Linked DNA regions of Homo sapiens: all the other regions are linked to region 2. Evidence: promoter capture Hi-C in 16 types of primary human blood cells and fetal thymus (Javierre and others, 2016). All regions are on one chromosome and are shown on one strand. Each heading gives the region's core, a stretch centred on a gene start or on the middle of the fragment in contact. The rest is flanking DNA. Distances are from core to core; before and after follow the strand shown. Region 1 overlaps UBE2E3 (ubiquitin conjugating enzyme E2 E3). Region 2 holds the start of CWC22 (CWC22 spliceosome associated protein). Region 3 has its middle 53 kb from the start of LINC01934.

The links. The method cuts DNA at HindIII sites, captures the fragments that hold promoters and counts their contacts. A CHiCAGO score of 5 or more calls a contact.
Region 1: a contact is called between a fragment that was not itself captured here and the fragment with the promoter of CWC22 in region 2, in 3 of 17 cell types (naive CD8 T cells, naive B cells and total CD8 T cells). The highest score is 6.2, in naive CD8 T cells.
Region 3: a contact is called between a fragment that was not itself captured here and the fragment with the promoter of CWC22 in region 2, in 8 of 17 cell types (total CD4 T cells, M1 macrophages, non-activated CD4 T cells and 5 more). The highest score is 13.5, in total CD4 T cells.

What each region holds. Positions count from the first base shown.
Region 1 is chr2:181,046,725-181,050,556 of GRCh38, forward strand. All of the region lies in intron 3 of UBE2E3 (ubiquitin conjugating enzyme E2 E3), which reads left to right. Among named protein-coding and RNA genes, the nearest start is that of UBE2E3-DT, 68 kb to the left of the region's middle. The HindIII fragment of the contact is 688 bases long and covers 1,681-2,368 here.
Region 2 is chr2:180,004,456-180,008,609 of GRCh38, forward strand. CWC22 (CWC22 spliceosome associated protein) reads right to left here and starts at 2,842. Exons shown (of 20, transcript NM_020943.3): 1 at 2,412-2,842. RefSeq lists an enhancer at 1,990-2,522. The HindIII fragment of the contact is 3,569 bases long and covers 667-4,154 here.
Region 3 is chr2:181,068,600-181,072,328 of GRCh38, forward strand. No RefSeq gene overlaps it. Among named protein-coding and RNA genes, the nearest start is that of LINC01934, 53 kb to the right of the region's middle. The HindIII fragment of the contact is 267 bases long and covers 1,661-1,927 here.

The sequences.
Region 1 (3,832 bases), core at 775-3,274, 1.0 Mb after region 2:
AGAAAATCTCTGTTGTCAGAGTTCTCCAGTTTGGGGTTTGATAAGAAAGCATATCATAGAAATTACTCTGCCTACCTAAAATCCTTTATGGTTTAGATTTTATTCTGTAGTGCCTTTACAGCACTCTTAGTGCTTCAGCCATAGCCCCAGTTTTGACTTATTGGGCCCCTGTCCCTCTTATTTTTCAAATTAAAAATTACACAGAAAACTATTCAGAGTAGAAAGAGTATAAGTGAAAACTAGGTTTCCTTTTCACTACAGAGCACCACATCCTTTTTAGAGGTAACCAGTATTAGCATTTCCTTCTGTATTTTTACAGAAAGAGTTAGTTCATATTGCCAGCATACACATGCAGGTAGTTTTTGTAGTTTATTGGCATGATCACCACATGACTAGATGACGTCTTTAGTTTCTAACACACTTTTCAAACCCAGCTTCTTTCCATATCTCTTCATGTAATTAATCTCTCCTCTGCTTTGTTTCCATTTGCTTTTTTGTCCCTCTGTTAAACACCTGTTAGAGGTCTGACATGTATTATTGGGACTTAGGTGTGGTGGTCTCATCTCAGGTATCATCTCGCCTTCTTACTCTGTACTCTTTACCTAGCCTGGCTCATCCCACCTGCAGGACATTAAGGACCTGTGTATCAAGGTCTCACAAATTTATATCTATAGGACCAGGCCCCTTTATCTTACTTGTCTGTCTCTTTGACATACTTATCTTTTGGATATCTCATAAACTTCTTAGTCCCAGTGTATCCAAAACCAACTTTTTTTTCAACATCCATATCTTAGTTAATGGCATATACATTATCTCAGTCATAGCAGTCTGAAAACTATAAGCTATTCTCGAAACCCTCCTTTTCCTCACTTGTCCTATTTCAAAACGTAAGTCTGGTTGATTTTTGTTTTGTTTTGTTTTTTTCCTCCTAAATAACTCTCAAGTCCCTCTTCTTTGTCTCTGGTACCATATTAGTCTAGCCTATCATCATCTTTCACCCAGATTACTGCAGTGGTCCACCCACAGCCCCTCCGGGCCTCCTCCAGACCATTTTCCACAGAGCAGCCTGAGGAGGCCTTGCAAAATGTCCATATTAGTTTAACACTCCCCCTTTGTTGCTTAAAATCTTTTGATAGCTGCCTATTTCTTTTAATATAAAGACAAGTCTCCTTCATGTAGTCTTACAAGGTCCTGCCTAGACGTTTGTTACAGCTTCCCTCATTAGGTCGTTTCATTGTACTTCCCATGTTCTCTTCCCTTCTGCCACATTGTGCTTCCAGGCCCTGCTACTTGTTCCTGATGGCCTCAGGGCATTTTCCTATGCTTTGAAGTCCTCTTTCCCAGCCCTTTCCTTTCAGCTTCTACTGATAAACCCCCACTGGGGTATTTGAAATAATCTTTTAAATATTGCTTCCTCTGACTCTTCCCTTATCTCTCTAACATTTCCCCGGCATTCAACAAGGAATACCTTGCCTTTGTAGCGTTTTCTGTTTTATGTTTTTTTGTGAGTTTATTTGATTAAGATCTATATCCTCAGCTTGGCTGAAATCTCCATTGTATATTTAGTTTCTTGTACAGATTCCTAGCCCCAAATCGTAGACACTCAATAACTCCTTAATGAATGAATGAATTTGTTTTCTTTATTGAATCTAACAAGTACTGTATTTTGTATATTGTTAAAGCTTAAATACTTTTTTTGATTCAAAGTAAATTCATAGGTTCACAAGGCACAGTATGGATTAATAAGCAATACCATTTCCTGGTTGGTTGTTATAGAGATTACATAAGAATTCACACATTTACCAAAACGAGGTCATTCTTGGGAAGAGGAGTAGGAAGATAAAATCATGGGAACCACTAGCACATACCTAGGTCTGCCCTTTTAGTTAGTAGAATTATTTTTCTACGTTATTTCCCCAGCCACTCCTCTCACCCTAATTGTCTGTATTATAGCTTTCCCTAATTGTGAACTCCTAATTGCTTTCAACCTAAATAAATATGATTCTTTCTAAAACACTCAGGAATAACAACTGTTCACTTATAAACAGTTTTTGAAGTTTGGAAAGCAATATAGAGGTTTGGCTTTACTTTAGAAAAATATTACAGAAGCTACCTGTGTTCTCCGCCTACTTCACACATGCCCATTTAGCATTTGATGTACTTCATATAATTAAATTTGTTCTGCATCCTAAGGATTTTCCTGAGCCCCAGCCGCCTTGATAAGGTTGTTAAAATGAACAACTCATTGCTAAGATTACCTTTTCTCCCTCTCTTGGGCAGTAGAACTCAGCTGAGAGAATAGCGGCAACTAGGAGAAGAAAGGGTGATGGGTTGAGATTTCTGGAGATTTCAGCTGAGGGAGTAAAGAAGCTTCAGAGGATAAAGATATTCTTTATGTCACCATTAGCAGAGAAGTCAAGGATCTGCTGGACAGAGCAGCTTTTTGAGTGTAGGTATTTTAGCTAAGTTGGATATTATACACCACAATGAATGTGAATATAAAAAACAAGGGATTTAAGTGTGAAATTGTGACCACAGTATTGGCTAAAGACAATATACTTATAGATGTTGATATTTAATTTCACCACACCCACAGTTTATCCTGGCATCCCAGTGCCTGGTCCATAGTAGTTATTCACAATGTTGTTTAACTGACTGGACTTGGATGTGTGTTTGTGTGTGTTTTTTAAATTATTTCACCTTGTGTATGGTTGTACTTGTAGAAATGTTTTCATCTACATTTATATAAGTGTACAGTACTTTGCAATAAAAATACCTGTACCAGAATTCTTCTCTTACAAAGTGTTTCTTATGATTATACACAATAGACTTGACTGCGTTTGGATGATGACTGTCATAATAGGCCTTAAGATAGACAAAGCACAAGCTTTATAGTAATAGTTTTGAAGAAAGACTATATGGTAATTACTAGATCAAGAAAGCATTATTGCATTATCTGTGCAGATAGAAGCCTTTAGGCAGATGCCATAGTTTTTTTACTTCATCAGTCTTTTTATATGTACACCTGACTGCCAGAAATAGTTATTAATTCTTCAATGAAGATGGTTTTGCAGACTGAATTTATGTGTATGTATATAGCACGCACACCCAGCCATTTTATTTTTATGTTCAATCTAATTCCTTTAAACAAAAGACTATGAAATACTACTACTTTTCTGTAGGCCATGTGATAAGGTTGTTAGGGCTGGACAGAAAGAAAAAATATATTTATTTGCCATACCCTGAATATATGAAATGAAGACTAGATTTCAAAAATCTTACTTTCAGGCATCACAGTAATTTACAAAAAGGCCAATAAGTTACACAAGCATTTGTAGTAATTTATGTAAAAGATGTGAAGCTGGTAAGGGATGGTTCAAAAACTTACATATCAGAATCTGCTTAATACAAATTTTAGGAAAAGAATCCACTTCTTTACAAGGCAATACTCTGATCACTATTTCCTGAACAGTTATTGAAGGTGTTTCAAGCAAGAGTTACATACTAGTATAGATTTTTAATGCAAATGGCCATATTTGTTTTGAAGGTGATACCTTGTGGGTTTTCTTCAACTCTTTCAAAACTTGAATTTTATATCATTTTGTTTTTCCTCCCATCCCCACATCCTAAGTGCTAAAAGACTCTAAAACTCATCTTGTCACCTGCTGTTTTGTTCAACGGGATTCTCTTCAGAAATATAATCCTAAAGTTTGGGAGGGACTCTTAGAGTAGACACTTAAGCAGAGATGGAACAAAGAATTAATAATCCAAATTATATGAAGCATTTAAAAGTCTGTAGAGTAGAAGCCATTACAGAATCACCTTTAGTACG
Region 2 (4,154 bases), core at 1,592-4,091:
AGCTCAGCTCACTGCAACCTCCGCCTCCCAGGTTTAAGTGATTGTCGTGCCTCAGCCACCCGAGTAGCTGGGGCTACAAGCGCACAGCACCACACCCTGCTGATTTTTTTTGTATTTTTAGTAGAGACGGGGTTTCACCATGTTGGCCAGGCTGGTCTATCTCAAGTGATCCGCCCGCCTTGGCCTCCCAAAGTGCTGGGAATGCAGGCATGAGCCATCGCCGCCCCCGCCCCTCGCCCCCCTCCCCCCCAGGAGAGTTAACTTCTAAAAATTCAGCAGCTGGGAAAGCTAACAGAGCTAAGAAAGCTGGCTTAGAAAAACAATTAGGTAGTCTAGGAAGTGTCAGAACTCCAAAAAGTGATTGGAGGTACCCTATCCAAAGCAGGGAAGGATGTGGTGGAATAATAATAAATACTGGCTGGCCATGCATCCAAGTACTTTGGAGCAAGGAGGGCAGCAAACATGATTCTGAGGACGGGGGAGGATGAATCATAGCATGCCCCTAAAGGATGAGCCAGAGCAGAAGTTCTCAAACTAATTGGCATGAGAACTACTCGAATGCTTTCGGAAAAAAAAAAAAAAAAGACAGACAGACTGTTGGGCCTCCATTTCCACGTTTCCGATTCAACAGAACTGGGTGAAGCCCAGTAATTTACATTGCTAACAAGCTTCAAGGAGATGATGCTGCTGATTCAGAAGACATTTTTGGAACCAATACACCAGTGTATTAGATCAAAGTTCTTGGCCTTTAACTTATAACCAAGACAGTCTCAGAGCCCCAGTCAACTGAGTTGGGAAAGACTCCATTAAAGTGGCATGGACACTTAAAACTAGGACACTAGCCGGGAGCGGTGGCTCACGCCTGTAATCCCAGCACTTTGGGAGGCCGAGGCGGGTGGATCACAAGGTCAGGAGACAGACACCATCCTGGCTAACACAGTGAAACCCCGTCTCTACTAAAAATACAAAAAATTAGCCAGGCGTGGTGGCGGGCACCTTAGTCCCAGCTACTTGGGAGGCTGAGGCAGGAGAATGGCATGAACTAGGGAGGCGGAGCTTGCAGTGAGCCGAGATAGCGCCACAGCACTCCAGCCTGGGCGACAGAGTAAGACTCCGTCTCAAACAAAACAAAACAAAACAAAAAACAAAAAACAACTGGAAGGACACTTACAGGTGGAAAGGCAACATTCAGAACCAGAGAACAAGAATTGAGGAACAGAGAGAACTCATCAACTGTATCATAGTAGTAATTTACAATAATACAACGCTAACGCTGTGCTCAGTGCCTCATCTGCATTATTTTTCTTTATACTCAAAAAAAGACAATACAGTGAGGCAGGTATTGTATTACTACCTACATGTTTCCAGATGATGAAGCTGACACTAGAGACTTTAGGTAACTTGCTCCAAGTGACAGACCTAATAATAGCTGGATAAAACAGAAATCTTTGGTCTACTAGTCCATCACCCAGGACCAACACAAGTGGCTTTCCTCCACCTACTGATAACGCCTGTAACAATGCTTCTCCTCTCCTGGTCAAAACCACACTTTTAATGTCAATTTTAAATCTGCCCTTCCATAGTAGGATGATAATTTATGTTAACTCCTGAATTCACAAGCAATCCTAAAACAAGGTAAGTCTAAATACAGATAAGAGGTAGGTTAACTGATCTGCTGAGAACCAAGTTTGCTTGCTTATCTGCTATTTCGAGTCTCTGCACATCTAAAAATGCAAAGGAAACTCTTACCTAATTCTTGCATCTAGAATAGCCTTTCTCCAAATCCTGCCTTCTCCACTTACCTCAGAAGAATTGTTAGGATTAAATGGAAATAGGTACCGTGGTTTTTGCAGTTAAACTCAGTGAAATTAACTATTATATTTCCGTTATATAATGCTGTGTTGTAGGACCCAGAGCTCGTTAGAGAGGTGGAGCCTGGAGACCCAAGTTTGGCAGTTATTACCTCACTGGAGATAGTTCAAGTTATGGAAGGATCAAGAATGACAGATGAAGCGGGCACATGAGAAGCGAAGTGTCTTCAAGACTAAACACTAGACACTATCAGTATTTACAGGGCAAATAAATGAAAAAGAAGACGCTAATGAAATTTAAAACAAATAGTCAAAGGGATATAATGCCGGCAAGAGGCATAAGAGTGCAAGTAATTCAACTAACTTTTAATCAACTAGATCTCATTAATCCCACTCCCCTGACCCTGGGACCCGGGCACTAGGAAAGGGGCTTTGGCAAGCCCCAATGGACTCCAGAGGCTCTAAGTATAAAACGCAGTGCACAAGAAACAACACAGCACCAGCGTTGGTGCAGGATTTCAGACAGCTCCAGGAACTTCACAAGGAAGGTCAGCCGGTCCGCTCAGGCAGTCAGTTCATGGCAGCCCATTCCCTCCCCACCTGCTTGGACCTAGCCGCTCTCACACCCCTCTTGCGGGCCCGAGCGTAGCGAGAAGACCCACGCACACTCCAATGCCGCTCACAGCCGTATCAGTGAGCCCGCACCCACTCCTGGGGGTCTTTTACTTCCCACCCGATCCGGCGACCCGCCACCCCCACTCCGCGTCTCTGCCTGCGGGGACTCCACGGAGTTCGATAATTACCTAGAGCTCCACCGCGCCGCCATTACACCGGACGTACGTCACTTCCTCTTCCCGAGCACCGACGGTAGGAAGAAGGCGAATAGTGAAATATTTAAAAACTTGACGCTCAATTGGCTTGACACGTTATCCCTTTAATTTATTTCAAATACCATATCATAATACCAGAGTCAAAGTAGTCGATCCAGGCACACTGTCTTGTTGCCAAAATGGCGACAAAAAAGAGAAGTTGGCATGAACTACAAAGTCCGAAATCCAGCGCCTGTGCTGACGGAAATGAGGAAAGCATAATTGTAGTTTAGCGTGAAATGGCGCGGTGTACGATGGGAATTGTAGTTCATACAGATGCGCGCCAGCGAGTTAACATCCACGCTGCTCACTGGCAGCCTAGTAGTGTTCAGGGTCTAGCCGAATTTACTTTAAAACTATTTCACTGCATTTTGGGGAAATTTTTTTTAAAAAAGCAGTCAGTTGTCACTTTCCTTGAAAAATCTTAAGAGAGAGATTTTCCTGAGACTTTATAAGAGTTTGACCAACAGTTAAGTGCCTAATAAATTCCAAGATATCCAGGCCATAAGAATGGGAGAATATTAAATCATAAATAGAGTGAAATAATGAGGAAAAACTAATTCTATAGAGACTGTGTTGCCTCTCTTTTAGGTTAAGGTACCAACTGGTATGACCTGAGAATAAAGAGATTGCCTGGCTGAGTAGGAAGTAGCAGTTTGTACAGCGTGCAGAACTAGGGCATCAAACAGTTTCTTTAAACTTCACTTTTCACTAGTAACAAAACCTAAAAGTTCAACTACTTGCTATTTTGGAAACTCTCTTCCTAAACCAAGAATATCTTTATGTTATCAAATCTTTCATAAACCAGGACTGGTTTCTCCACACACTTCTCTATTACAGTTTTAGGGTGCTGTGCTTCCACTCCTTTCTGGAGGCAGAGTGTGATGATTAAGAATAAAAACACTGCAGTTGGACTACTTATTTTGAATCTTGAGTCCTTTTATTATTTATGGATGACTGGGGCAAGTAACTTCACATTCTGTGGCCGTTTCCTGATCTGTTAAATGGAAATACCAATAGTATCCATCCAGGCAGTAGTTTTAAGAATTGAATTAGTTGATACACAAGATGCATTTAAGATAATTGCTAGTATACAATAGTGTTATCTATTTTATTTCATATTTAAGATATTTGGCCATTGTTGATGGTGCATTTTGGTGCACCAATACAGGGCACAGGAGATGGATCTGGAGATGAACATTTGTATTCATATATTTAAAAACCCACAATACTACCGGTGATGGTTAATTCTGAATGTCAACTTGATTGGATTGAAGGATGCAAAGTATTGATCCTGGGTGTATCTGTGAGGGTGTTGCCAAAGGAGATTAACAGTTGAGTCAGTGGACTGGGGAAGACAGACTCACCCTTAATCTGGTGGGAACAATCTAATCAGCTACCATCGAATATAAAGCAGGCAGAAAAATATGAAAAGGCAAGACTGGCCTAGCCTCCCAGCCTATATCTTTCTCCC
Region 3 (3,729 bases), core at 544-3,043, 1.1 Mb after region 2:
TTAGCAAACTCAGATATGTTGGCTGCTCCCACCTTAGTCCAAGAGAAGGAAAAGGTAAATCTGTGAAGGAATGGGTTGCCGAGAGGTGTGTGGTACTAAGTCCTGACAGCTAGGGGCCCAGGTCTGTAAGGAAAGTCAGGGATTCTCTAGTGATTGAGATTGGGGTAGTTAGGTCTTCATATGAGCATTTCAAGTTTTCATCTACAAAGTGATGAAGAAGAGTATTAATTTATGAGATAAAGAGTATGAGGGGATAACACTGTAGGGCTTTCACTGGCACCCCTTACCTGATTCCTTTATCATCGTTTGAAGAGCACTTTTTAGCCCTCTGCTAAACTCTTGCTGTGGTCACAGAACTCTCAAATGGTGAAGATCATTTTAAATATGCATGAGACACCATGTTTTTTCTTCCATGGTTATTTTTTTTTAAGGACATATATAATGTTTTACTTGTGTATGTATATCATCTCAATTATGAGCCCCTAGAAATAAGGGATCCAATTTATTTCATTCAGTAAGTTATTAGTTGTGTACACTGGAATATTGGTTTGGGTGCTTAGGATTAGCAGTGAATAAAATACACGAAAATTCCTACCCTTATGGAGTTTACTTTCAATTGCTAGGAGACAGACCAAAAAAATTTAAAAGTGTATATATATATGTGTGTGTGTGTGTGTGCGTACGCACACATTCTCACACACATATATGTATGTTAGATGGTAAGTGTTATGGAGAAAAACAAAGTAGGGAAGGGAAATAGTGTGTGCAGTGAGGGAGAAAGAAAGGGGAGGTTGAATTACAGTTATAACAAGGGTAGTCGGGGAAGACCTCACCTAAAAAATGAGTCAAGAGCTGAAGATGGTGAGGAATAAGCCACATAGGAAAAGAGTCCTACAGGCGGAGGGAATACCAACTGAAAAAATCTTGTAACAAGAGCATGCCCAATGCATTCAAAAGGTAGCAAGTGCTTAGGAGGGCTGGAGCAGGTGAGCAACTAGGAGAGGAATAGGAGGCCAGGTCAAGAAGATGACAGGTGGGCAGATCACATAGGGTCTTGTATTTCATTTTAAGGAGTTTGGCTAGTATTCTAAATAAGATGGGACACCACTGGAAGCTGTTTTTAGCCAACGAGCAACAGGACATGATTTATTAGAATCTGATCAGTCAGAGAAAAACTTGCTGTGGGGCTAAGGAATTGGGAGCAGGGGGACCAGTTAGGAGGCTAATGCAGTAATCCAGGTGAGAGATACCAGTGACTTCAACCTGGGTGGTGGCAGTGTAAGTAGTAAGAAAAGGTCAGGTTCTGGTTAAAAATAGAGCTAAGAAGATTTGCTGATAGATTGAATATGTGGTGTGAAAAAGGAGTTAGAGTTTAGGGCCTGAGCAAACTAGTAGGCTGTAGTTGTCATTAACCAAGGTGAAAAACTCGAGGGTGAAGCAGGATAGGGAGAAAGATTATGAGCTTAGTTTTTGACAGGTTAAGTTTGAAATGCCTATTAAACATCCAAATGGAAGTGCAAGATTGGATATACAAATTTGGAATTCAAGAGTTCTGGGCCAGGGATGTATATTTGTGACACGTGAGTGTGTAGTTGGTATTTATAGCTGTGAGACCTATGATCACTCACTCAAGGGAATGAGTGCTGCTAGAGAAGAAAGAAGCTTAGGCACTCCCAGCATTAGGAGGCTGAGGAGAGATGAGTCAGCAAAGTAATCCAGGAAGGAACGCTCAAGAAGTGAAAGGAAAATCAGGAGAGTGTGATAACCTGAAAGGGAAGTAAAAAGTTTCAAGGAGGTGGGAATGATCTACCCCATGAGAGACTACTGATAAGCCAAATAAAATAAGGACCTAAATAGCCATTAGCAACTCAGGAGTCCTAGACACTGGTGACTTTTATATGCAATTTTGTTGGAGCAATGAAATTAAAGCTTGATTGAATAAAGTAACAAGGAATAGAGAACTTGGAGACTCCTGACAATTTTGCAGTGAAATAGAGAAGTAGGGAGTAGTTGGAGTTTCTTTAAGATGGGAGAAATTACAGCATGTTTGTATATTGATAGGAAAGATTAGAGAGGAGGAAGTGGATGGTGTAGGGGAGGAGGAGCAGTGTCCTTGAAAAAGTTATCTGCTACATAATTTATTCAGGGTGTTTTCAAAGTTCTGCACTACCTTGGACATCTGTCTTTCTCCCTGACTAGAGCAGAAGCTCTTTGGGAAGTGCAGCATCCAGCACTTACAGCAGCATTGTCATTCACCAAATTCTTGAGTTCCCCTAGATAAGCAAGAGGGGATAGGATCTAGTACAAGTGAGGTGTTTGGCCCTTGTTGTGAATTTGCAGAGGACATGGGCATAGGTGAGATTGGAGGGTAGATGTGGTTCGTAGGAAGTTCTTTGGTAGCTTCTACTCCTCCATGAAACGAGATGTTATTGGCTGAAAGTGAGAATGGGGAGACGACAGTTCATACATCTGTGTGACCCATTAATGTCCAGCAGAGTAACTAGTCGTTTGTGGTCAAGTGTAAAAATGAATGATTGAGTTGTCTATCTGGATGAGCCTTTCGTTTATTTCATAGTTAACATGTTAATGAACATGCAATTAAAACATCCATATCAGCTCGAATGGCTCCTCTTTTTCATCAGGTATGGTTTAGCAGTTGTTTGAATCTTTAGCACCTTAATTTTTGTTTCATTCAAGTGATTTTCCTGAAGTCATTGAAGAATCTACCTTGACACCAATTTTAACTAGAGAAATTCAATTATTTGCTGAAAGTTAATACTGCTTTAAATGCTGGACACAAAAATAGTTACGCTGTGTTTCCCAAAGAGGTCATCATGGTCTAGTCAGGAAGAGGGGTGTCCAAGGTGAGTTACACAGAGCTTTGGAAAAGCCTCAGTGGATGGTGTGGCAGATGACGTCCCTGAGTTTGCTAGAGGAAAAATGACTCTAGAAAACTGAGTATTCTTCCCTGTTCTATTTTATGGATGTGGTGGTCAGAGAAGGACATAGTGACCAATTTCTGTGACCCTCACTTCCACCATTGGTCCCGTGGCAAGACTCAGTTACAAGCCTTCTCTCCCTTTGGATTGTACCTCACTCAGGAAGTACGGAATTTGAAGATCAGATTTCATTTCCAGAAAATCCATAAGGCAGTCACAGCTTATGACCAAGGCTCACACCTTTTTTTCTGCTTACCTTTCCCTGCTATTGTCCTGACTTCTTGCCTCCCAAGATTGATATGTAAGAAGTGGGGCCATTTTTTTGCTTTTCTCTGAAAAACTAGTCAGCAAAGAGGTTGGAATTTTAATTGGTTTAACTACTTAACTTAGAAAGCCAAGAGTTAAATACTTAGAAGTGAAACTTTTTTTCTTTTCCTGATTGGGTCTTTCTGAACAATATTTTTGCTGTGATTATTGCACATTTAAGCCCAACTGTACTTTTTATCTGAAAAAAAAATAGGATATGACTCTTAACTGTCGTAAGCAGATTACAATAATATTCTTTAGAACACGGGTGTCTAATCTTTTGGCATCCCTGGGCCACATTGGAAGAATTGTCTTGGGCCACACATTAAGTACACTAACACTATAACGGTAGCTGATGAGCTAAAGAAATGGCCCATGCATAAATATCATAATGTAAGAAAGTTTACTAATTTGTGTTGGGCTGCATTTAAAGCCATCGTGGGCTGCAGGTTGGACAAGTTTGCTTTAGAATATTTCACATTTA